Regions from separate parts of the Homo sapiens genome. Here all the other regions are linked to region 5. Evidence: promoter capture Hi-C in 16 types of primary human blood cells and fetal thymus (Javierre and others, 2016). All regions are on one chromosome and are shown on one strand. Each heading gives the region's core, a stretch centred on a gene start or on the middle of the fragment in contact. The rest is flanking DNA. Distances are from core to core; before and after follow the strand shown.

Region 1 (3,560 bases), core at 1,061-3,560, 1.6 Mb after region 5:
AAGGGCTTCAAGGAACCACAGATTTCACATGAGAGTCTGGAGGCTAAGCAAAGAATAGAAAGTCATCACAGGAATCTCCTCTTCTGTCCCCCTCACATATATAAAGCTAAACATAAATCTTAAAAGGGCAACACCATGAAGGAGTGAAACAGAAAAATCATACCTCGAGAGATTTACCTATCTCAGCCATGAATAGATGCAGAATGGAAAAAGGTCTCTTTTGAGAACTTCTAACTACAAGTCTGCATTTTGGAGAGTTTTGGACTGCACTCTACACTATAAAGCCTGGTTCAGTGTTGGTTAACTGTGTGGTGGCTCAACACTATGAGCAAGCACCAAGTAGTCTTCCTCTCTACTCTGCCATCTACTATTCAGGAGAATACAAAAAAAAAAGGAAGTATCTGTCAAGGTAAGTCCAGCGTCTAAACTTTAATTAGCTGTGTTACACTGGAGAAGTTGCCTAACTTTTCTGAGCCGTAGTTTCCCCATTTGACAAACTAGAATGATAGTGGTTATCTATGACATATTGGGAAAATTAAAACAGGTAATCTGTCTACAATACTTAGGAAAGTTCCTAGTACATACTAAAATTTCAGTAACTGTTAGTTACTGTTATATGAGAGACATGGAAATAAAGTAGAAACAGATTATTTATTAAGAACATAACAAGAACATTTTCAAGAGGTGGAAAGAAGCAACAGAAAAAGCTACTCTTAAGACTTCACACTCAATGGGGTGATATACACCTTCTATAATCCAAGACAAGTGAAATCCCAGAGAATGGTCAAGGTCTGTGTTTTTCAACTTAAGACATCCTTGGAACACTAGTCAAAATACACCCTTTATGGGTAAGAATGTACTGTACTATAATAAAGAACTTTTAACAGTTGAAGAAAACATTAGCACTATTTCTTGATTATCACATGAGATCTCCTTCTGGGAAGATTTAGGAAGTTGTCTCAAGAAACAAGCAAAGGGAATGGAATAAAGAGAGTTTAAGAGTATGTAATACTTTAATAATGAGACTAAGAACAAGATGACACAAAATCTTGAAACTTAGTAGGAACAGTTTCAAGGGCAGTGTTTAGAGATGAGACGATCCCAAAATCTGTTCAACAGCCATCAATTTTTTATGTTCCAGAACAAGATCAAGGGAAGTATACTAAGAATTCACAAAGTAATACCACTTAAGTAACTAATGAGTTCCTCACAGGGTATCAAGATCAGGAAAATCATACAGAGTCCAAGCAGATCTCACAAGCAGAATTATTTAATCATGGGATAGATTTGACAAGTCTGAAGATACACAGCTTGATTTGTAACAGTTTTCAACAAGTCCTGGATGTATATCAGTATCAAGGATACTATGGGAGAGCTCTGTCAGACAAAACTGGATTTAGATTAAAGGGACACCTGACATTAAAGGAAAAATTGGGACACATATACTGGCATATAGGAGAATAGTGAGAGCAGATACTCAACACCAACCCAGATCAAATCCAAGCGTAACAACTTGGGAACTATCCCAAACACTAAAGCAGGCCATCCTTATTAACAGAGATGTTTTCCAGAAAAGGAGGAAAAGGGTCTTTAGATCCTAAAGGTCCTTATTAAAACATCATCACACATGCACATGGTTATAAAATCAGACTTGAAAAAACAAAATACACTAAATATTTGCCAAAGATCTACAGCATTATTACTGAAAAGTCTGACCCCTAAACCAGCAGAATTGGCATCACCTGAGAACTTGAAAGGCATACGAAGTTGGAGGCCCCACCTCAAGACCTCTAGAGTGGGCATCTATATTTTAATAAGAGCCCCAAGTCATTTTCATACATATTAAAGTTTGAGAAGCAGTGTGCTAAAGGACATCGGAAAGTTTTAAGTTGCTCAACATCCTGATTCAACAAGCTTACAGTGTAATTAGGGAAACTATCAAACAAATAGAAAAGATAAATGAAACTTAAGAACAAATAATCTTATAATTAGAAACATTTATAATGGAGTTATTTTAGCCCTGTCCTTGATAATACAGTTGTTGTAGAAAAATATTTAAAATTCCGGCTTTCTGGTTGTTATTTATGTTACACAAATGATCATGTACACCACCTGAGTGCTTATGCAAAGGTTTTAGGAAGTCAAACACGACATTTCCAGAGAAGGATTAATCAGAATCTGTTACCTGGTAGCAATTTACCTGCTAGACTGATCAGATGATGGTCGTGGTGGTAGTGGTTCCACTGAAAATAATTCTTCACTGCCCTGCATGGCATCTATGCTAGTACTAGCCAGGGTAAATGGTGCAGTTGGACGAGCAATCCCCATTCTGACAGGAACAATCAGTGACTCTGCTACGTTGCACAATTCTTCCACAGCGTAAGGTAGCAATGCTTGGAATACACGCTTGCATTTTCCAATTGGCTGTGGAATAAAGTTGCTAGAACAAAAAGAGAAATATCAGCAATCTATCTTTTCATATACATAAATCACTATCACAAAAACAGAGTGAAAATGGTATCTAAACCAAAATCAAAAAGGATGCCTTACTTTTTCTTTTTGGATGAAGCCATTTCCACACTCAGAATAACAAAAACTCTTGCCACTGAACGTAGAAACCTCATTGTCACAGCAATAGCTTCTTCTCTACGTCCAGGTGTATATTTGTTTTGGAGTTCTTTCACTAGTGTACCTAGTAGAGTATCTAAAAGCTTTAAAAAATTATATTCACTCTATTAATGTTAAGATACTTCATAAGATGTTTAGACATTCATAAAGTTATAAGTTCTAACATTTTTTAAGTATTAACATTTTATAATAAAATCTCAAAACAAATTTAACCAAAACATTTACAAGGTCAGTTTATGAAATATACCTGCCAATGTGCTTGACATACAGTGAGTCCTAAATGTACGATTTCTTATTTTTTGTCCCACAGTCCTTGGTATATCAACTAATATTTAGAAGAACAATACCAAATATATGAAATCAGAAGAAGAAAACATAAACTCAGTCTGGGGCACTTTCCAAAACAGCAAAGCAGACTCAAATATTTATATGAATAAATTCATAATCCCATCTCCCTCATGGAACCATTATTACTTTCTAGTCTCTTTTCTGTGTGCAGCTTCTTGTATAAATGTTAGCTACAGAGAACACCCAATTTTCACAGTTTGGTTGTTTGGTTTTTTTTTTTACGTTATTTACAATACGATTTATTTTTAAATTGCTGCATCATATTCCAGTAAGTGGTCAGGCTATAATTTGATTCAAGATTACACTAGTATTAGGCTGATATTTTTCTGTTTTTAAATTTTACATTATTCTGTGACATGCCTTTATTTTTCTCACATCGTAAATTATTTATTTATGACAGGTTCTGAGGGCACTGATAGTTTTATGTTTTCCAGAGAAAGGAACGATGCAATGCCACCCCATCCCTATCTGAGTGTGTTATTACCATAACCTCATTCGCACTGGATCTTAAGGTTTAAATTCTTTTCTAGTTTCACAGCAAAGAAGAGTACTTGAAAAACATACTTTTCATGTACTTGTAATAC
Region 2 (3,427 bases), core at 162-2,661, 1.5 Mb after region 5:
CTGTCACAGAGCCTCAGTATTTTCATCTGTAACATGAGGCTGTTGGACTAAATGGTTTCTAAGAGCCTTTCTTGCAGCTAATTCCATAAAGTGTCTATTAGTGGAAAAAAGGCTGCCAAACAAAAGATACGGTCTTAGGTTCAAAACTCACACAGGTTATCTTAAAAAGTTATTTTGCATTAAGGAGCAAAATAATGCAAATAATAAAATAATAAAGCAAAAAAAGTATTTACTGCTACATTGTGATACAGAATCATTTTATAATAGTAATTATTGGGGAACATCTATCTATGCATCAAAATTCATGCAATAAGCCATATTAACACTAAGTTTTATCATACCTCTGTAATAAAACTTTGTGCAACACAGTGTAAATGATGCTCAGTAAATGTGAACTTACACTTTTTAACTTAACCAAGGATATGCCTCCCTGAAATAGTTTGCTGAACATGTAACATTCCTCATCAATCCATCCCTTCATACATACGCATCATTCTTCAGTGTCTGTCTCTCTTAAGGAAAAGCTTTTTTTTTAATCTAATCATTTTATAATGCACAACAATGAAGTATATCCAATTTCCTAGAATGACTAGGAAACCTAAACAAACTTAAGATTTCCTGAAGCACAGTTGTATGGGAAAGCTCATCTAGAATTCTATATAAAGGGACAGAAAAAAAAAAAAAAAGTTAAGTATCAGGATCTATAAAATCTGAAAAGAAATAGAAAACAGGTACTCTAGAGATGAAGTTGATCTAAACCACTCATTTCATAGATAAGAAACAAGCTTAATATAAAGTGTTTCTCCAAGGATGAATGTGGTTAACCAGGGTAGATGACCTCACTGCTGGATCTCTAAGAAGTTGGAAGAGAAATACTTTTACTAGTGAATTATAACACTCCAAGAGGGAAATAAACTGTAGTTTACCCAATAACTCTGGAAACCCTATAAGTTGCAGGACTAATTAATTCATGGGAGAACTGTTTCAGAAACCCCATTCTTATGTCCTCTAGATGCATCAGGATGAAACCAAACAATATGTGAAGGATGACTTCCCAAAAAGAGGAGAAGGGTAAGGGGGAGGAAGATACCATGATAAACTGCTTACACCCTAAACATAGATTTTCAATAAGAGTTTAAGGTTCACAAACTAAAGCTGTTGACAGGAAATTTTGAGGTCTTTATAGAAGGAGATTTTCTTTTTTCTAAGATTGAGTCACTAGCAAATTTTTCTTTCAGTAGAAGGCAGAAACTCATGAGATTTAAGTTGGCTGACTGGACTGAGGAAATACTGGTTTAAAAACGGCAGAATTGGGAGGCCAAGACAGGCGGATCATGAGGTCAGGAAATCGAGATCATCCAGGCTAACATGGTGAAACCCTGTCTCTACTAAAAATACAAAAAATTAGCCAGGCGTGGTGGCAGGCACCTGTAGTCCCAGCCACTCGGGAGGCTGAGGCAGGAGAATGGCGTGAACCCGGGAGGTGGAGCTTGCAGTGAGCCGAGATTGTGCCACTGCACTCCAGCCTGAGCGACAGAGTGAGACTCCGTCTCAAAAAAAAAAAAAACCTGGCAGAAATTAAAACTAGGAAATAGATTAAAATAGATGACTTAGAACTTATACCAGATAGCCAATCCTTTCTGTTTTTGGTGGTTCTTACAGACTTGAGATGGGGCTTGTCTTAAGGAAACAAGGTGCCCTGAATCTAAAGACTGACTAAAGGTGGTAGAACTTAAGCTATTTAGGTGATCCTGAAACCAACAGGGACAGTTATGGTATTGACTAGTGGGAACTTTTAAGAGCCATAAGACTGGAGAAGTCAAATGCTGACCAATTATATCAAACCCACCTGGGGAACAAACTAAGTCAAAATTACTAGGGTGGCTAAAAGCTGAGAAATGAACTAGGTGGCAGTTAGGACTGCTGAACAAACCCATCTCACCATAGCAGAGAAATATTAGAATACACCTAGAGCCATGTAAAGATTCAGGAGTGCTAAAAGCATGAATTCCCCTCCTTCCCTCCACCACCCCCAAAATAAGCTTCTGCCTGAATGAAGGTAACTGGGAATCTGCAATTTTTTTCTTTCCTGCACAAATAACCACTTCCCCTTATTCAAATAAAATAAAGGATATATCTAGAAATCTGATCATTTTTAAATATTTCCAGAAGTGGTCTAGTTTAGAACTAAGGCTGGTTAGACCGGGGCAATGTTCCAGGAGTACAGAAAGGATCTTCCAGGGTCTTCTAGATAAGGAATGTCCTTCAAATTTCTACAAGAAAGTCTGCAGCATACTGCCTTTCAAGATTAATGGACAGGATGATTTGGTTATGGTTTTACTTGATGGGTGGACGTAAGTTCCACTAAGAGGTAGACTTTCCACTAAGATCAAAGCTTCTGTTATCTAATTTATAATTCTAAGTTAGCTGGGGCTCTGTACTAATAAGATTTTGAAAGACTTAGTACCCACATATCACAATTAAGCTACTCTCTTCCTAGTATGCAGATAACAATCAAGATAATACTCAGAAATTCTGTCAAGGCTTGGCACTAGTCAAAAGGATTAAGGATGTATACAGGGAGAAGCATATGTAGGCAGTGCGATAAAGATAAAAAGCCATGTTGCAACAGTAAACTGGTATCTTCTGGGACTAAGGACAGCATATTAACAGCTAAATGTACTTCACTCTGCTTAGAGCTTTAGTAATACTTCAGATATTGTTATAGAGCAGAAAAACAAAAACTGCCTTATTTGTGACCTTCTATAATTGCCCTACCCAAAATTAAAATGACCAACCATTACAAACTTAAAAGGCCATCATACATGGTATTTTTAACTTCTGTATTTCCTTCTACAAATCTTGTGAAATTTTTAACTTACAAGATCTTGTCGTTCTGTCATGCTCATCTTCTCTACTATTGACCAGAACCAACGCTTGAACTGCAGAAGCTTCTCAGCATTTTCTCCTAAGAATGAAGAATGTAAATAAAATATACTATACCAGTTGTTGTTATTATCTGTAGAATATTACTAATCTTCTTATAATAAAAGGATACAGATTAAAACATTATTTAAGACTTGGGGGGGAGCGTCTAATTCCTAATACAAGAAATTAAGAGCATTTGCATAATGCAAAACCTCTACAGTTCATTAGTCAATCCTGACTCAATATGACCAAAACAAATGAACCACCAGCCTTAAAACTGATATTCACATGAGTTTTATCTCATCTGTATGTCAGTATTCTTATGATCTCAAGAAATGCAGATTCTCATTCATTCACTGGGTGGGGAATGCAGAGAGGGGAGACCAGAGATTCTGCCTGTCTAAAACGCTTTCAGATGATGCCAATGCTACTGATCTGAGGATCATACTTGGAGTGGCAAGATCTTAGGCAGTTTATTTGGATACTGTTTTCCTTCCTA
Region 3 (3,227 bases), core at 118-2,617, 1.6 Mb after region 5:
TATACTGAGGTGCTATTTCTTACCTATTAGATTAGCAAAAATCTAGAAATTTAACAACTGCTGGCGAGACTGAGCAATCAGGCATTCTCACATTGATGGTGAAAATGCAAAATTATGCAACTGCTTATGCAGAAGTATTTGTCAATGTCTAGCAAAATTATATGCACATGCTCTTTGACCCAGCAATTCCATGTCTAAGAATCTATCTCAGGGACACACTAGCAAAAAAAAACACGAGGCCATTCATCACACTATCTGTAATAGCAAAAGACTGGAAACAAGCCCAAATACCTAGTCTGTAAGGGATTAGCTGCAAAAACTGCGATAACAACCATTAAAGTGCAGTACATTAAGCAGCTATAAAAGGAAGGTAGAACATCTCATATTTTCTCTGGGATATACTACTAAGTGAGAAAAGCAAGATGGAATAAAATGTATAGTATGTTTGGGGAGGTGGGAGGAGGTATGTAATTAATACATACATATGCTTATATGTTTTAAAAGGGAGGGAAGGAAATAAACTTGAAAAAATGGTAAAAGAGACAAGAATGGACTTATATCCATTCTTTTGTAGAGTTCACTCTGCCACACTGTAGATATTTTACATTGATTACAAAATAAAACCAAAAGAGGAAAAACGAATCCCTAAAATCTGAAAGCAAAATGAAACAAAAGGCCCTAATTATATAGAGCTGGTAGCAAAACCTACAAAGAAGAATTACTTCAAGTGACTTTAAAACAAACCTAATTTAACTGTGTATCTCTAACTGCATATGACCTAAGGACAAACATCCGCAAATAAATCTTCAATTATTTTGAATAATCATTTTGTTAGTGGTAGTGTTGATGTTATAATTCTTTGTAAGAGACAGAGTCTCTCACACTATGTTGCCCAGGCTGTCCTCGAATTCCTGGACTCAAACCATCCTTCCACCTCAGATTCCAGTGATGTAATTCTAAGACTGCTACTGTGTATGTTGTGGCATTAAAACAAATGAGTAATTTGATTAATGTTGTTGGGAAGTTGGCTATTCAGTTTGAAAGAAAGGAGATAAAGACTTAAGATCTAAGAAGCAAGGCCAGGTGTGGTGGCTCACACCTGTAATCCCAGCACTTTGGGAGGCCAAGGCAGGTGGATTACTTGAGGTCAGGAGTTTGAGACCAGCCTGGCCAACATGGTGAAACCCTGTCTCTATTAAAAATACAAAAATTAGCCAGGCATGGTGGCAGACACCTGTAATCCCAGCTACTCGGGAGGCTGAAGCAGTAGAGTCACCTGAACCCAGGAGGCGGAGGTTGCAGTGAGCCAAGATCATGCCACTATGCTCTGGCCAGGGCGACAAAGCAAGACTGTCTCCAAAAAAAAAAAAAAAAAGAAAGAAATCTAAGAAGCAAACATAACAAAAACAACCTTGTGGTCCTAAATCCTGAATTTGAATTGGGAGTATCAATATTAATTCATTATTTGATTTTTTAAAAAGAACAAAAAAAATGCATTCCCAAACTGTTATCAATTAAAAAGGCCTAGAAACCATGATCAACCCAGTAGCAATATGCAACCTTAGAGCACAGACTGTAATCTCATAACACAATTTCCTACTAAAAGGAATCAAAGCTACTTTAAGAAATGGCTGATTTAAGGTCTGTGACAGGAAATACCCAAGATGAAACATACCAGAAAGTAAGAAAGTTTATCAAAAATTATTGGGGCCATGTCAAAAGAACTCAGGAATCAAAACTGACTCAAGACTCCCATTAGCCAAAGAAGACACAATCTGAGCATCAATATGAATAATAATCTCAATGGAATTAAATACATCAAAAAAAGTTTAAATCAATGCATGCATAATGATACTTAAAAACTAAAACAAAAAAATTCATAGAGGATGCTAGGGAACCAAACTGCCAGAGAAAACTACTATTCTAAATTTGGTGGTTACAATAAGAAAAAAATAAAAAGAAACCACACACACACACACACACACACACGAAAAAATAAATTTGGTAGTTAACATTTCTTTTTATTTTCTTTAAATTTTTAATTATAAGTACATATCCCTAAGCAAAGCTATTGTTATTTTGCATGTTTTAAAATTTATATAAATAGCATACTACAGGTATAGTATAAGAAAATCTAAATACCTTTACCTCTAGTGACAAATCTCTTGACTGCTGGTTTCTCAGTTTTTCCATTTCTCTGCGGAATTTTGATTCTTTTACCTCAAAACCACCCAATTCAGTTAGGATCTTAAAAAAAAAAAAATGCATGACAGATTATTCCCTGAAATACATGCTTATCAGGCAGAATGGAATTTAAGGTGCACAAAATACATACTGATCCAGGTTCTGCTCCAACATCTTCCATGAATACCCTGCCGAACAGTTCTAAAGAAAGGCGCCAACGTCCTAGCAGCATATCATGGGAAATAACCATTCCCATAAAGCTACACTGTGGCCTGTAAGAAGTTTAAGGGAAGGGGTGGGGGGGAGAAATAATTTAGCCAATTTCAAAGACTGATTGGTTTTTGTTCAATGGTAGTAACTTACTTTTTTTAAAAAATATTCTGAGGTCTTAACTTCTTCAAACTGTGTCCTAACAGAGAACTTTTCCATAGCTACTTGTTCCCGACAACTTATTATTTTTCCTCCCTTATTCCTTCTGTATTCTACATACGGATAAATCCCTGGGCTATGTCTTATCTTCGTCTTTCATTTTACCTCCTCTCCTTAAAGTCCAATGTCTATCTCCATTTAGGTGACTCCCAGATCCACCTCTAGTTCAAACTTTCACCATGAACCAGAATCTCCATTTGTTAAATAAATATGTCCACGTCAACGATGCTCAATTCAAACTCAGCATGGTTAAAACTTAATATGGCTTCTTCACCACAATGACAGTTCTCCTGATTTTTTTTCAGTAGTAACATCTCTTTCCCTAATGCCCTGACTTAGACCAGATTTTAATTTTTCTTCCTCCTCTTCCTTCAAAGTGATCAAGTCCATCTTAAGTTTCTCTTCCTTTCCATGATGTCCTTTCTAAAGCCAACATTCTGCCTCAGCATCTTTCCCCCAACTAACTGAAACTATTAGTAATAACAAACAGCTTTTTAGCTGGCCTCCCTACCTCTAATTCTCTCCAGTCTGTTTCTGCACATTCTAACCATCTCAATTCAATCCATATTGCTTCTAGGAAGCTTGGGCCACTCAAGTCCACAATTCTCCCCTGT
Region 4 (3,684 bases), core at 228-2,727, 1.6 Mb after region 5:
TCAGGTATACAAAGCTTTTTAGGAGTCCTTTGGAAACAGTCGGGAACCTTCGGTGTTCCACCAGTTTTGACAACCTGCATGACACAAAAGGAATTTTGCTTTCAAACTCCATAATAAACTCACGGAGTCAGTTCCAATATTCACTTGCTGAATAACTTCTTTACACTTACCTGCAATTCATCAATTCTAAGTAACCTACAATCCTGCAGGAGAGAAGAAGGGTCAGCATCTGGACCAGAGCTGTTCTGACAGTTAGTATTACTGGAGGTTCCTGGAAATTTTACAGCAACATAGGCACCATCTACTTTTAGCACCTGGAAGTATAGGCAAATTCAATGAACATTAGCAATAGCTTATATAAAATCAACATACAAATTCTATTCACTGAACTAATTTAATGTTAAAGGAATCCAATTCTTTGTATGTTTCTTCAATGATCACCAAGTTATAAAATCAACCCAGACAGACTCTGAGCTTTGCTACTGACATCTATATTCAAGGCTCATTTGCTAGAGAAAACTGACCCACACAGCCAGTGATTACAGTCAGTGAATGTTTTCAGTAATCAACTGAAAAACTTAAGTATATAGCCCGTGAAATCCTCCCATCTCCTAATTAAATTAAAGCAGCCTTCGGTCTGACAGAACTTTCTTGAAAATGGCAACGTTCTATATTGGCGGTGTCCAATACGGCAGCCATTAGCCATAAGTGGCTACTGAGCACTTGAAATGAAGCTAATGTGACGAAGGTGCTGACTTTTTTAAGTTATTTGATTTTAACAAATTTAAACAGCCACATATACAGCTAGTGGCTACAATACACTCAACACAGGGATAGGGTCAGCAATGCACAGAAAGACAAGCACAGAATTTGAAACCAGGACAAATTTGGGTCCCACTTCTGCTACTTGATGCTTTTTATTTTAAGCCCGTATCTAATTCTCAGAAGAAAACACCTACCCATGAACTACAGGTCTATTTTGAGAATCAAATGAAACGGTATATGAGAAAGACCTTTGTAAGCTGCAGAAACTGGTATATCTGCTCTTTCCTTTAAGTATAAATGAAAGACTATCACGTTTCAGAAACTACTGAGTAATCATGAAAACCTTTACTTTACAGACATTCTACAACTGCAAGTGCATTTTAAATATGTGTCAGTAGAAGAGTGAAATTAATGGCACTCAAATTGATGGTTTCTTAGAAGGCAAAACAGAAGAGAGGAGAAAAAGTGGAAGGTGACTTGTAATAAGGTTTTTCAGTACTCTGGAAGAATTTTAAATGTCATGGAAGATGATCTCAACTAGAACTAAGAGATCCAACAAATGGGCTGTACCAAAAAGTAACGTATCTCTATGCAACTTTTCTACAAAACTAAAACTATTCCCAAATAATAGTTTTTTTAAAAAGCAACATATCATCACAAATGCTCAAAGAGAGGCATAATCTCTTCATCTGTCAGCGACTGAGAAGACAGATCTGCATCAGATGCAGGGGTGCAACTAAAGATACCACTGAAGATGATAAATAAAACAGCCCTGAAGAAAGGACTCAGATATCAACCACAAATCCCTGGATAACCAATATCATTATAATTCTGTTAGTAATTAAGTTTTAGATATCTTGAACAAACCTTGCCAACAGGAACATTCTTGACATCTTCCACAAAAACCACTTCCCGAAGAGACCACTGCTCTTCATTCACCTTTTCCTCTTCTTTTGGTGCAGGGGTTGACCGTCGTCGTTCTTAGACAACAACAAAATGGTAAGTACCAAAAAGAAAATGTAAAAGAGACTTTATAGATTTCATCTAAATTTATAAGAAAGACTATCTTTAAAGGGATACATAAGTGAAGTTTCTCAACAATTTCCTAAGCTACTGCTTTATGAATTGGAGTTTTCTGATCAATCTGTACTTCAAATAAATTCACAGTGAAGAACAACTGTAACCATTAATGTTTAATTGTATTAACACCAGTATAAACAAGTACAAAGAAATAGCGTAAAATGTATTTTGTACTCCCAAAATTATAGTATCTAACCAGAGTTTAAAAAGGAAGATCTGCCAGATAGTTTTAAGAAAACTATCACATAACTATTAAAGTCTAACTTTTAATTTCCTAAATTGCAAAGCAATTAACACCATAAAATTTATTTTAAGGAATTTTTGAAAAAATTCTATCCATGGTGTGGCAGTAAGTCTAGGTTTATAAATTTACAAATTTTGAGCAAAAGTTGTGACCAAGACATAATCAATTTACAATAATAAGAGTCTCAACAAAAGTGAGTAGATAGACTAGCTAGTGGCAATTATTTCCTTCTATTACTATCATGAATTTCACATATCTTTTTAAAACTCTAATTCTGAAAAACAACAGAAATAGTCAACACTGTAAATACCATCTTTCTATTCAAAGAAGGTTATGCAAAAAAAAAAAACCAAAGTAATAGAGATACAAATTATATAAAAAGATGTAAAAAATGATATGAGTTGCCTTAAATCAGAAACAAACTAAACACAGCTGTCTGCATGAGACCTATTTTCACAAATGCATACAACAAATAAAACTTACTGTATGGCATTGATGCACTGCTGGCAATTGAGGATGCATCACTACACGTGGATGCTGGAGATGGTGGAGGACCCATTTCTGTTTTCACTGGCTCCTGCTTACTTTCAGGCCTGAGATAAGAAATAAGATTCTCCTTATAATTAGATAAATGAAATAATGGAAACTAGTATTTTTTAAAGACAAGTATTTTCTTATAAAAGAATGAATATTAAAAACATTTTTATTAAACTATGTATTTATATTAATTTTTTCATTGTATATTTTTAAGACTCAAGAATAAAAGGTACACAATGCATGCTTTCAAATAGTGGTTTAATATGGGAAGGAAAAATATAAAAGCTATCAACAACTTGAGACAATGATTCAGATAAGCTTTATCTAGAAATAACGAAATTTACACTTAATTTATCAACACAGCTTTGTCAAAGCCTCTTGAGCAAACAAGTTTCACACTGCAACACTGCTAAGATTTGGATATGGCAATTTAACTGAAAAAAAAAAAGGGTAAAGGCAAGTAAGTAAAAAGCCCATTAGACCATTAATTTCATAGAGTTCCAAGAAGAAACTCTACTCACAATGGTTTATAAAAATTTATTCTTAAACCATCTGGTGACAGGATTAAAAAACTAGCCCTCTTTAATGAGTTATTTAATACTCTGTTTAAGAAAATAACTACAGCAACTAAACAGCATTCTACAGATGGTGCAAACATAAATATTTTTATATATTAAAGGGTAGAAATCAGTTTTTAATCAGAAAAGTCACTGATTATTCACAAATTTGTTATTTATATACCTATTATAAACTGGACCATCATCTTAACCCTCGTCTCCTATTACTCTCATCAGAAATTTCACCTGAGTTTAGAAATAATCTAAAAGAAAACTGGTATTATTTTCACCAGGATCTTAACATGAGTGATCTCAATAAGTACACAGCAAATACTCCTGGCTGCTCCACAAATGCTGTGATGGTGGGGGGAAGCCAATACTGATTAATCACTAGCATACCTTTAAAGTGAATGCATTTCAATGACTGGCAAACGAGGGTACTACTGACATGAAAAAGACTATGTTCTTAACATTTAAATTTCACTTAGCTCTTTTGCTAAT
Region 5 (3,360 bases), core at 471-2,970:
TATTTTGTACTCAGTCATTTCCCAAGATTTACAGGTATCATGGGCCACTTTTAAAAATAAAAGAGAAACTTGAACTTCTTGCATGCTACAGATAAGACTGGTCCAGTTGGAATTACACTAAAGTAACATTTTATAGCCAAAGTTGACTATTTTATAAAGAAAAGCCCCTCAAAACGACAGGAACTATTTCAGAAGGTAACATAATATACTCGAAAACCACCAGTACTGTGAATCTAAGATAAAATTTGACTAAAAATGGTCTAAGTTGCCTGAGAAAACTGGCCTTCAAAGTGGTCGGCTGCCACATCCCCTCCTCCCACTCTGCCCTTTTAATGTTAGAGAAATGCTTGATCTAGGGGAAACCCCAAATGCATGTCTCCGGTAAATTCCATTCCTAGATCCATCAGTCACTGATGAGTTCTGGGAAGTGGACTCACAAGCCTGAGGACCACCACCACACCACACATCGCCACAGGAACTTTATCCTAAGGCCTGGTGGCTCCCCCAGGCGACTGGGCCAGGAGCAGGAGCAGAAGCAGGCCTCGGGCCTGCGAGGTTACAGGGTTCAACACGTGGTATTTTTCGAGCACAGAACTGCACTTCCTCCCCAGGCTGGGGCGCCGGCAGGAGCTCCGGGTGGTGGGAGCGCCTCCACCTCTTACCCACGGAAGGAGCTCAGCGTTCAACGCCCCAGAATCCCGGGGCCACTGGCGGGAGCGCCGCGGAGGAACCGAATCTCACCCACCCTCCCGGCGCGTCATCACCCTAAAGTTTGAGAGCGTCTGAGGCCGAGAAAATGGTCGCAAAGGAGGAAGTAGCCGGGCGTGTGGCTGCCGGCAGCGCGGGTCCCCGCCGGCTCGGGAAACGCGGCTCCAGGGACCCCGGCGCCTTCCCGCCGGCCGTCGCGGGGTGACATGCCCTCCCGCCCCCCTCCCCGGGCCCGCCGGCCTACCCCGCCCGCCGCCGCCGCCCGAGCCTCATGGCCGCCCGCCCGCCCGGCCGACCGCGGAGCCCGGCGCTCACCGTCCGCCGGCTGCTGGAAGTTCACATACGCGTAGCCCAAGGAGCGGCGGGTGATCATGTCCCTGCAGACCCGGATGGAGAGGATGGGCCCGGCCGGGCTGAACTTCTCGTAGAGCATCGCCTCGGTCACGTCGGGGTGGAGGTCCCCCACGTAGAGCGAGGCCATGGGGTAGCTGGGGGCACTGGGGTTCATCTCGGCACGGCTGCCCGCAGGGCCACAGGCCGCGACCTTTCCGTGAGAGGAGGAGAGCGAGTGCCGGGGCTGGGGGCCGGAGCCGGGGGGAGGGGAGCGGGGAGCAAGCGCAGAGGGACAAAAATCAACCGGAATTGAAAACTACTCAACGGCCGCAGAACGGGGTCGATCCACTGCCGCTGGCTGCCGGCTGCCGGCGGGGAGCGAGGGTGGCGGTGTCGGGTCCGGGCAGCGGGAAGGCCTCGGTCTCTTGGTTCCTTCTTGGAGCTGCTGCGGGGCCGCGGGCGGGCGGGTCGGTCTCGGCTGCTTCACCGGGTTATTTTATAAAAGAGGAAGAAAAAAAATAAAAGTCTCCGGCGGGGGAGACGCGGATTTTTTGTAAATTTTTTTGGGGTTTTTTAAAAGATTTTTTTAGATTTTTTTTGGATTTTTTAATAATAAATGTGTGTTCCGAGCCCGGAGCACACACTCCGCACTCTCAGCACTAACCGCCGGGGAGAAGGGGAAGCACCGCCTCCTGCACCCTCTACTTATACCCCGCGCCGCACTCGCCCCGCCCCCGCGCGTCTGACGCCAGGGCCCCTACGCGAGCGTCAGCGCCGGAGTAGGAGGAGACGCGGAGGCCAGGGGGAGGAGGGAAGAGAAAACAGGAGGAAAGAGCAGAGAGGAAGGGAGAGGTGGCGGCGGTGGAGGCTGCGGTGTGGGGGTGGGGCTCGGGCGAAGGGGCGGGGCTTTTGCGCAGGCGCCGCGGCCGGGGAAGCGGAGCCCGCGCTGCGTCGCGTCCGTGGGGGTGGGGAGGACGGCTCGCGGGCGGTCCTCGGGGGTGTTGGCTGAGGCGTCCCCGCCTTCCGCCCCGCCCGCCCCTGCCTCCACCAGGAGGAGCGTTAACCCGTCACCGCGGCGGTGGGCGGTGCAAAGGGCTTCCGGGTTCCTCCGCGCTAACCACCCCCCACGTGCGCGGCCGCCTGTGGCCTCTTCCCGCTGCGGCCGGCCCGGCTCCTCTAGCCCCAGCTCCGGGGGACGCCGGGCACGGGTGAGCGGGCGTGGTCCCCTCCGGGCCCGGTTTCCGAAACGTGCGTAGATGGAGCCAGCGTGGCCCCCTGCTCTCTCCTACCCGGACCGCACTACGAGTCCCAGCCGGCACCGCCGCCACGCGCGTCGGCCGCAGAAGCGGTGCCTGCTGGGAGCTGGAGTCCCCAACGGCCGCGGCGCTCGCTGACACCAACTGGCTGCGCGGGTCCTGGCCGCCCGCTCCGGGACCCCCCAACCGTCCTGCGCGCTGGACCCCGGCACCGCTGGAGCTCCCGGCGCGGGGTTGGGGGGCAGGGAGAGAGAGGGGAGGGCCCCTCGGGTTCCTCGTCCTCTTCTTTTCCAGCCCGACCCTCCTCCGTGTCTTCACTGGACGTTGTCGTTGGTCAAAGTGGCTTTAATTTGGGATAGCTGTGTTGGGGGTCTTTGGTCACTTCTTACCTTAAGGTGCTAGGCTGGAATCATTGATTTGTGCTGCTTCTGCCAGACATTTCTTGGCGATAGAAACCAGGAGTGGAGAAAAGTGAATGTTTTTCCTGAAAGTACGGGTTTGTCACAATCACTACTATATGGCACCACAGCCCTGCAACCAGACAAAATTAGGAATAGTCTAAAACAACGTCCTTATAAATAACTAAAACAATTCTGCACATTAGTAGTGGGTTTTAATAGGAATGCTAAATTTAACGAATTGATAGTAATAAAAACCGGCTCTAGGAATGACATTAAATCAACATACAAATTCCACTCGAAAGTAGTAAAGTGCTTTTACAGTTTTTAAAGCACTCGCGTAAACATACTATCATTTGTTCCTGAGAGCAATCTGGTGTGGGAGGTGGAGCAAGTAGTAATAATTTTACTTTACTGTTACAGGAACAGTCTCAAAGAAGTTAAATGATTGCCCAATTTATTCCTTAATTCAATAAACTTTAATGGATGTCAACTGTATTGCTAGGTGTGGAATTAAGTACTTTATATCTTGTCTCATTTAATTAGAATTTAAACCAGTGGAATCCCACATAAATACTATTTTGCTCCTATTAAAAAGAGGATAAAATGTGACCGGGCGCGGTGGCTCACTCCTGTAATTCCAGCACTTTGGGAGGCTGACGCAC
Region 6 (3,175 bases), core at 205-2,704, 1.5 Mb after region 5:
TAACAAAGATGTTGACAATATAACACTACAATATAACAAAGATGGGTAAGTGGGTAAAATTAGTGTAATAGAAGCTTCAAACACTGGTGCCTTCTGATTTCTAGGTTAAATTTTCCCCCTTCTGTGCATAAAATAATAGTTTACATTTATTTAGTGCCTACTAAGTGTCAACTACCATTTTAAATATCTCATAAATCCTCATAACAACACAAATAGCCAAGTACAATTAGCCTAATTTACTGATGAGGATACACAGAGAGGTTATGTAACTTTCCCAGTTCCATAGCTAGTAAGTAGTGGCACAGGATTTGTACCTAGGCAGTCTGACCCCATAGCCTGCATTCTTAACAGCATGTGTTTAACATTTATAGAATTAATGTCTTGAAAAATAGATTCAAATCTATCTATCCAAATAGATACATCTATCTATAGAGATACATATACAAACATATACAGAACAAGAGTGCTGTATAGGTATCACCCATTATATTTAAAGATCAAGACAATAACTATTTGTTCAGTTAGACTACAGGGCAATCATTTTCATGACCACTGTCCTTACCAACCAGCAAATATTTTCTAGTTTGCTGTGTTCAACTGATCTCCCAGGTGGAATTAACAAAAAGCTTTCTACAGCTGATCTATTAGTGGCAACTCTGTCACGTTTGATGTAGCTGAGGGCAGGGCCAAACTGGGAGCAGCACTGTGAGTTCCACCTGGCTGACTCGGGAGTGAGTCCACAGCCTAGAGGATCAAACTCTTCATGCAGCGGCTCATTTTGTACAATCAGATAAATCTCTCAATTGAAAGCAGAGTTGCTACAGCTTTCACTCATTTTTTGACTACAGCTGCAATTTTACTTATTCTGCTGACCTTGTAAGACTAGTCAGACAAGTCTTACTTGGCCATATCAAACTAAAAGTCTGTTTAAAAATAGAAAATGTTGGCTGGGCGTGGTGGCTCATGCCTGTAATCCCAGCACTTTGGGAGGCTGAGGCAGGTGGATCACAAGGTCAGGAGTTTGAGACCAGCCTGGCCAATGTGGTGAAACCCCATCTCTACTAAAAATACAAAAATTAGCTGGGCGTGGTGGCTGGCGCCTGTAATCCCAACTACTCAGGAAGCTGAGGCAGGAGAATCGCTTGAACCCGGGAGGTGGAGTTTGCAGTGAGCTGAGATCGCGCCACTGCACTCTAGCCTGGGTGACAGAGTGAGACTCTGTCTCAAAAAAAAAAAAAAAAAAGAAAAAGAAAAAAAATGTTCTAATATATTGGAAATAAAAATCTGGCAGAATTAGATGCCATTGTTGCAGCAGAAAACTTGTTTATAGATAGTAATCTAAACTAAAACATTGAGAACATCATATTTAGTCTCAGTAATTCCAACACTTATCTTCTACAACTGATCTTCTTCAATGTATAAGTTAAAGTTATTCAATATCCTGTAAAACAAGAAGGAACACTGCACTATAGGATGTGAATGCTCTTGGAGGCAATGCCACGTACCTCTTCTGCTGTCCAGAAGGAAGCCTGTGCCTGTTTATACATTTTCCAAATATCAGGGTACTGGATTGGAAAGATGACAAACCGGCGAGAACTCTTTCTTAGGAGTGGCTCTTCATTTGACTTTATTTCACTTTCGTTGGTGTCTGAAGATGATCTCTTTGAAAAATAAAGTACAAACACGCCTTTTATATAGACATTTCTTCTTTATTCATACCTAAACATACATCTAAGGAAGTCAGGGAGACGGCATTGGTTTGAGAGCCTGTCTGCCTGGGTTGAATCCTTACTGTTACCTGGTAGCTGACTAATACTGTTAGGAAGTGCGTGTGTGACCATAGAAAGCTGCTTAACTTCTCTAACCCTCAGTCTCCTCAGCTGTAAAATAATTCCTACCTCATAGGTTTATTCTGATGATTAAAAGTGCTTTAAACAAAGCCTGGTATATAGTAAGCACTCAAAAATTATTGTAATTATTGCTAGTTTGAGGATAAGTACAAAGCTAGACCCATAAATGTCATCATGATGGGCAAATTTCTAAGTTTGTGAACAAAATGTCCCTTTAGAGCCTCTCTGATAAGATTGCTGGAATGAATAAGCTACTGGTATAAGCTACTTTAATGTTTTTTCTTTCTACTCTTCACTGAAATAATATAATACTTATCTGAAAACTCATTACCTACAACTTAACCTTTGTTCATCTTAGCCTTCTGATACTCCAATTTGTTACTGCTATTTACATTCTAACATTACTGCATATGATCTCACTGTGGGCTGTCTCAAAGCTTTGTGAATAAAGTGAGAAACACATACCTGTATTCACACTGCTTCAAAACACGATGGCACTCTAAGAGCAAATGGTGCCATGCATATATTTTTAAAATAGCGGGAACATCAGAAGAGAATCAGAAGAGTCGCACATGTGTGAGAATGAGTATAAACAAAGGACATACAAATAAGCTAAACGTGTATAAACCAGGATTAGAACACATACAACTTCTAGACTCCTATCCAAAACTGTCTCTCTCTCTACTGTGACAGGCCCGTTATGTTCCTTACTCCAGCGTCCACCCATTGTCACCTCGCCAAAGCAACTGTTATAGCAGAGGAGGCTAAGGCTTAGCAAGAAGAAAGCCCAAAATACAAGCATACGGCTATGCAAATACAGGGGGGCTTGCGTGCTTTATACCTACTGCCATCACAGTACAGATGGTCTTGATTTTAACTACTTGTTTAAAGGTATGGGCCTCCTCAGATACAGCACTTGAGCCCTGGAGAAGAGGAACCAATTTTTATTTGTTGTGATGTTCCCAGAGCTTAGTATCGTGTCAAGCATGTTAGCTAAGTAAATGGGCTGCTAATTTCTCTTCTTCCTGTACTCAGATTTCTAGGTACCTTTAGAAAATTTTAATTTAACATAGGACCACAATACATCAGTGAGACAACCCAATAACCATTAAAATCAATCACATTTTCCCCTCTTCACATCACCCCAAAGGTCTGGGTTAGGTTCCAGATATAAGTACATAGCTCACTGCAATTTAATTCCCTGTTAATTGTCTCTAATTTCCTGTGCTTCTTGAAAGTAAAATCCATTTTCACCCTTGTAGAATCCCTTGTGCTTAGCACAGTACCTGGCACTTAGTTGGTACTCATTCCACAAATATTTGAGC
Region 7 (3,639 bases), core at 481-2,980, 1.9 Mb after region 5:
CCTCGCCGCTCGCACGTCCCCGCGCCCCTGCCCCCGCCATTGGCCGGCCGGCTCGGCGGCCCGAGCCCGGATTGGCTGTGCGGCCCGGGGCGGGGGCGTGGGCGAGGAGGGGGCGAGGCATGTGAACAAAGCGTGATCAGCGGCTGCTCCGGGAGGCGCAGGAAACGTGAACTGGGAATTGCCGCGCCGTCACCTTTCCCCTACTTCCTGAGCTTGCGGGCCCCCGCCCGCGCCCGACCCGGGGGAGGGGCCGCGGGCGCCGCCGCCAACCGCCCGGCCGTGCGCGCCGGGCCCGCGGGGAGGGGCGGGGCTGCGGGCGCCAGGCTCCGGGAGGCGCCCGCCCCTTCCAGCTCCCCGCGAGCCGCCGTTCCCTTAGGAACCGACAGCGGGGCCGGGCCTCGCTCCCGCCCCTGGCGGAGGCCGGGGCTGGGTCACTCGGGGACGAGAAGCTCCCCGGGCGCACCCGCTCCCGGCCCACCCCCGGCCTCCGCCTCAGATGCGGGAGGAGGAGCCAGGTCCCCGCGGAAACCCGGCCGCCGCCCTCCTCCCGCCGGCAGCCCCCGGGAACCCGGCCGAGCCCTCGGCACTTCCCGCCCACGCGGCCCACGGGACCTCAGACCACCCCGTCTCTCCCTGTAGACGCGGCGCCCCCTCCCCGTGGCTTCCGGCAGCTCCAGGCCCCTCCCGCCGCGCGTCTCCACGGGTTCCCAGACGTGCAGCCCCCACAGGCCCCGGCTCCAGACGCGCGGCCCCCGCGTCTCGCGGCCCAGCTCCCCCCGCCCACCTTCCCGCCCCAGCTGCTGGGTCCCGCTTCCCACCCTCCTGCCCCAGAGGCGGCTCCCCGCCTCTTCCAAGGAGTCGTCAGAAGGCGGCCACCTGCCCCTGGGGTAAGAGTCCCCCTCCAGACGTCTGGGGGAGCAACTCGTCCCCCAGGGCTGTCGGCGGGCCCTCGTGTCATCCCCCCGCTCCGACGACAGGCGCCCCTTCCCCCAGCCCCGAGCTATCTGCTGAGCAGCCCCCGTCTTCCAAGCGTGGGTTCAGACCCCCAGGATGGGTAGCCCACTCGCCTCTCCTGTGGACACCCCGCCTCCCGAGTGCTTGCGAGCAGCCCCTTCCTCCCCTGGCTCGCGTTCCTGAGCCAGACCGGGCATCTCTCCTCGGTACCAGGTGAGGGTAGCCCCCTTGTCCCTCCCGCGACTCTCGTTCCACACTGTACCCCAACCTCGCTGCAGGGCAACGGCCCCCTCCCCACTCCTCCCCCGCTCGTCATCCTCCTCCTCACCAGCCCTCTCGGGTCTCCATGCGGAGTTGTCCCTTCCCCTCAGTACATCTAGAGCAAGACCCCTGTCCCTGTCTGAAGATCCCAGCCCCCTGGTTCGACCCCCTCCCGAACACACACGCCCTCACTAATGCCCATAGTCTGCAGGCAGGAAGCCCTTTCCTTCCCCACGACTCCGCTGCAGCCCCAATTCTCAGGCATGGCTGATGTCCGGGGCTCGGGGTTCGCGCCCCCTTTGGCCCCCCAGACAAGACCAGGCGAGGAAGCACAGGGGCATCCCCAAATGACTTACCGCAGTCTGCTGGAGAGAGGCACCGAAGTTGAGCATGGTTGGCTGCTTGGCCGCCGGCGGCAAGCTGACTGGCTGCTAGGCTGCTGGCTGCTTGGCCACAGACGGGCGCACGGAGACACTCGACGCCGCTCCCGCCGCCGCCGCGCTCAGCGCCGTCTGCCCCCTCCCCATTCAGGTAGCCGCTCAGCCTGCCCCGCGCCGCGGGCGGGGGTGGGGGCGGAGCCTGAGGCCGGCCAATCAACGGCAAAGGTGTGTGAGGCGCCGGCCAATGGGCTCGCGGGGCCACGCGTGATCGGCGACTGCCCGGCAGCGTGAAGCTGGTGTCAGTGGAGCGTGTACACAATCCCCGGCAGCGTGTTCCCTCTGCCCTGCCCCGGGGAACTCCAGAGGCCACCTGATTGAGTGACGCCCCCCGCCCCTCGCCCACCCCTCGCCCACTCCTTGCCCCTCGTCCCCCGCCCCTGCCTAGAGAGGCGGTGCCGCGGCCGGGGAGGCGCGGCGACTGCAGCGCGCCCAGGCACTGCGGAGGGCCAGCCCCACGTGGGGGGTGGGGAGGGATGCCCGCTCCGCCCCGTCCCCTCCGCGCCGGGCCTCGTCTCAGCCCGCCACGGAGTGGGCGGGACGCCAGGCAGGCGGGGGACGCGGCGGCTGCCAGCCAAGGGGCCGGAGCCAAGAGATTTGCATTGGAAGCGCCATCCTCTTGCGCGTCTGATGAGGAAGCAGAACCCGGTGACCGACTGAGCTGCATTTCTGAAGCATTTGCTGGGTTTTGCCTCACTAAGCCTCGGGGAGCACTGGGGCGCGGGATGGGGGACCCTGTCACGGAGCCGACACCTGCTCGCGCGCCTCTCCCCCGCTCACGCCGTGCCGCGGGCTCGCCCTCCCCATCTGCAGCGCCCGCAGCGCCTGCCCGCCCCGCCCATCCTTCCTCCTGGGCAACCCAGAGGATGGCGTGAGGACTCCTGGAAGCCCAGAGGACCGGACCAGGGGCGTGGTGGGGAGCCGTAGACCCGAGTTTTTATCCTTCTCTGGCGCCGACACTCGGCTGCGGAATCGAGTTTGAGCTCGGTGTAGCTGAAGTTTAAATTGTAGCTGTTTCAAAGGTAGACCCCACCTCACCCCCACCCCTGGACCAAGACCTCTGGAAGCGTCCTGCCTGGAAGCCGCTTGTGGGGAGGGCTCTCCTAGGGTCTCCAGGCTCCCGCTGGAGCACGCCTGGAGGTGGGTTTGCCGGCCGTTCCCTGAAACTGGCACCACTACCGCCCCACCCACCCACTCCAGCTGGTGGGAGGCAGGCTGGGTTTCTGAAAGGAAGCCGCCCGTGTGCTGCGCCTGGGGGCTGGGGCTAGGCCTTCTGATCAGGAAAGCCCATGGCCCTGCTTTGGCACGGATTTGCCCCCGTTTGGCCGTTTGTGCGTGATCACAGCAGCTGTTGTTGGAGAGGAAGGCAGTGATAACGGGGCTTAAAGCAAATCGGAGATCTTATCCGATTTGGACAGGCTGAATTTAAGGCAAAAATCACTGTCTCTCCTTCGAGCACTCACGTCTCTGTAACTGAATGAAAGGCTGGTAATGCAAATAGCATTTCTATCCCAGTAATCACAGAATGAACACAGGAAGGGAATTAATTCTTTTAGAAACTGCCAATGCTATGCGTATCTTCCGATGGTTTTTTTCTAATGTATCTAAGGCCCAGGCTAGCGAACAACAGCAATAATAATGATAGTAATACTGTTGGCCAGGACCAGAGAGGCCCAGGGCTGCGGGGATGAGGAGGGAATGGCCTCCTGTCACCGCCCCTCCTGAGTCTGCTGGAGAGGCGCCAGCTCAGCAGCCCGGCAGCTCTTCCTGCCTCTCCCCACCCCATGTCCCTGCTTCTGTCTGCGGGGTGTCCCTCCCCACAGGTTTCCTTCCGCCTGGGCTGTCCCATCCTGTTGACCCAGCCTGAGGGCTGGAGCAGTTGGCCCTGGACACTGTGGCGGGAGAGGAAGCTCCTGTATGCCCCTCCGGCAGGCCTACCTTCCTTCCTGTCGGGCCCTCCCCTGGGGTGGCTTCTGCTAGACCCTCC

What was found. The method cuts DNA at HindIII sites, captures the fragments that hold promoters and counts their contacts. A CHiCAGO score of 5 or more calls a contact.
Region 1: a contact is called between a fragment that was not itself captured here and the fragment with the promoter of PABPC1 in region 5, in 1 of 17 cell types (monocytes). The highest score is 6.9, in monocytes.
Region 2: a contact is called between a fragment that was not itself captured here and the fragment with the promoter of PABPC1 in region 5, in 3 of 17 cell types (total B cells, monocytes and fetal thymus). The highest score is 11.7, in total B cells.
Region 3: a fragment that was not itself captured here is called in contact with the fragment with the promoter of PABPC1 in region 5 in 1 of 17 cell types (total B cells); the score reaches 5.0 in total B cells.
Region 4: a contact is called between a fragment that was not itself captured here and the fragment with the promoter of PABPC1 in region 5, in 1 of 17 cell types (monocytes). The highest score is 7.0, in monocytes.
Region 6: a contact is called between a fragment that was not itself captured here and the fragment with the promoter of PABPC1 in region 5, in 3 of 17 cell types (monocytes, neutrophils and total B cells). The highest score is 9.8, in monocytes.
Region 7: the fragment with the promoter of KLF10 here is called in contact with the fragment with the promoter of PABPC1 in region 5 in 3 of 17 cell types (monocytes, fetal thymus and total B cells); the score reaches 9.9 in monocytes.

What each region holds. Positions count from the first base shown.
Region 1 is chr8:102,291,405-102,294,964 of GRCh38, forward strand. UBR5 (ubiquitin protein ligase E3 component n-recognin 5) reads right to left here. Exons shown (of 59, transcript NM_015902.6): 33 at 2,551-2,711; 34 at 2,201-2,440. Among named protein-coding and RNA genes, the nearest start is that of UBR5-DT, 54 kb to the left of the region's middle. The HindIII fragment of the contact is 797 bases long and covers 1,913-2,709 here.
Region 2 is chr8:102,254,750-102,258,176 of GRCh38, forward strand. It overlaps UBR5 (ubiquitin protein ligase E3 component n-recognin 5), which reads right to left. Exons shown (of 59, transcript NM_015902.6): 58 at 2,883-2,968. Among named protein-coding and RNA genes, the nearest start is that of UBR5-DT, 17 kb to the left of the region's middle. The HindIII fragment of the contact is 1,257 bases long and covers 784-2,040 here.
Region 3 is chr8:102,273,373-102,276,599 of GRCh38, forward strand. UBR5 (ubiquitin protein ligase E3 component n-recognin 5) reads right to left here. Exons shown (of 59, transcript NM_015902.6): 46 at 2,336-2,456; 47 at 2,149-2,247. Among named protein-coding and RNA genes, the nearest start is that of UBR5-DT, 36 kb to the left of the region's middle. The HindIII fragment of the contact is 3,650 bases long and covers 1-3,192 here.
Region 4 is chr8:102,312,172-102,315,855 of GRCh38, forward strand. It overlaps UBR5 (ubiquitin protein ligase E3 component n-recognin 5), which reads right to left. Exons shown (of 59, transcript NM_015902.6): 15 at 2,573-2,682; 16 at 1,633-1,745; 17 at 171-314; 18 at 1-74. Among named protein-coding and RNA genes, the nearest start is that of UBR5-DT, 75 kb to the left of the region's middle. The HindIII fragment of the contact is 2,930 bases long and covers 13-2,942 here.
Region 5 is chr8:100,720,368-100,723,727 of GRCh38, forward strand. It overlaps PABPC1 (poly(A) binding protein cytoplasmic 1), which reads right to left and starts at 1,721. Exons shown (of 15, transcript NM_002568.4): 1 at 1,024-1,721. The coding sequence starts at 1,216. RefSeq lists silencers at 898-1,007, 1,688-1,767, 1,848-2,557 and enhancers at 960-1,792, 1,847-2,347, 2,348-2,848. The HindIII fragment of the contact is 6,173 bases long and covers 1-3,360 here.
Region 6 is chr8:102,230,644-102,233,818 of GRCh38, forward strand. RRM2B (ribonucleotide reductase regulatory TP53 inducible subunit M2B) reads right to left here. Exons shown (of 9, transcript NM_015713.5): 2 at 1,506-1,661. Among named protein-coding and RNA genes, the nearest start is that of RRM2B, 6.7 kb to the right of the region's middle. RefSeq lists a silencer at 1,067-1,286. The HindIII fragment of the contact is 1,661 bases long and covers 625-2,285 here.
Region 7 is chr8:102,653,995-102,657,633 of GRCh38, forward strand. KLF10 (KLF transcription factor 10) reads right to left here and starts at 1,731. Exons shown (of 4, transcript NM_005655.4): 1 at 1,572-1,731. The coding sequence starts at 1,607. LOC101927245 (a long non-coding RNA gene) reads left to right here and starts at 2,254. Exons shown (of 5, transcript NR_160672.1): 1 at 2,254-2,792. RefSeq lists silencers at 1-700, 1,601-2,620, enhancers at 1-467, 1,761-2,361, 2,962-3,562, 3,563-3,639 and a promoter at 1,587-2,321. The HindIII fragment of the contact is 6,240 bases long and covers 1-3,639 here.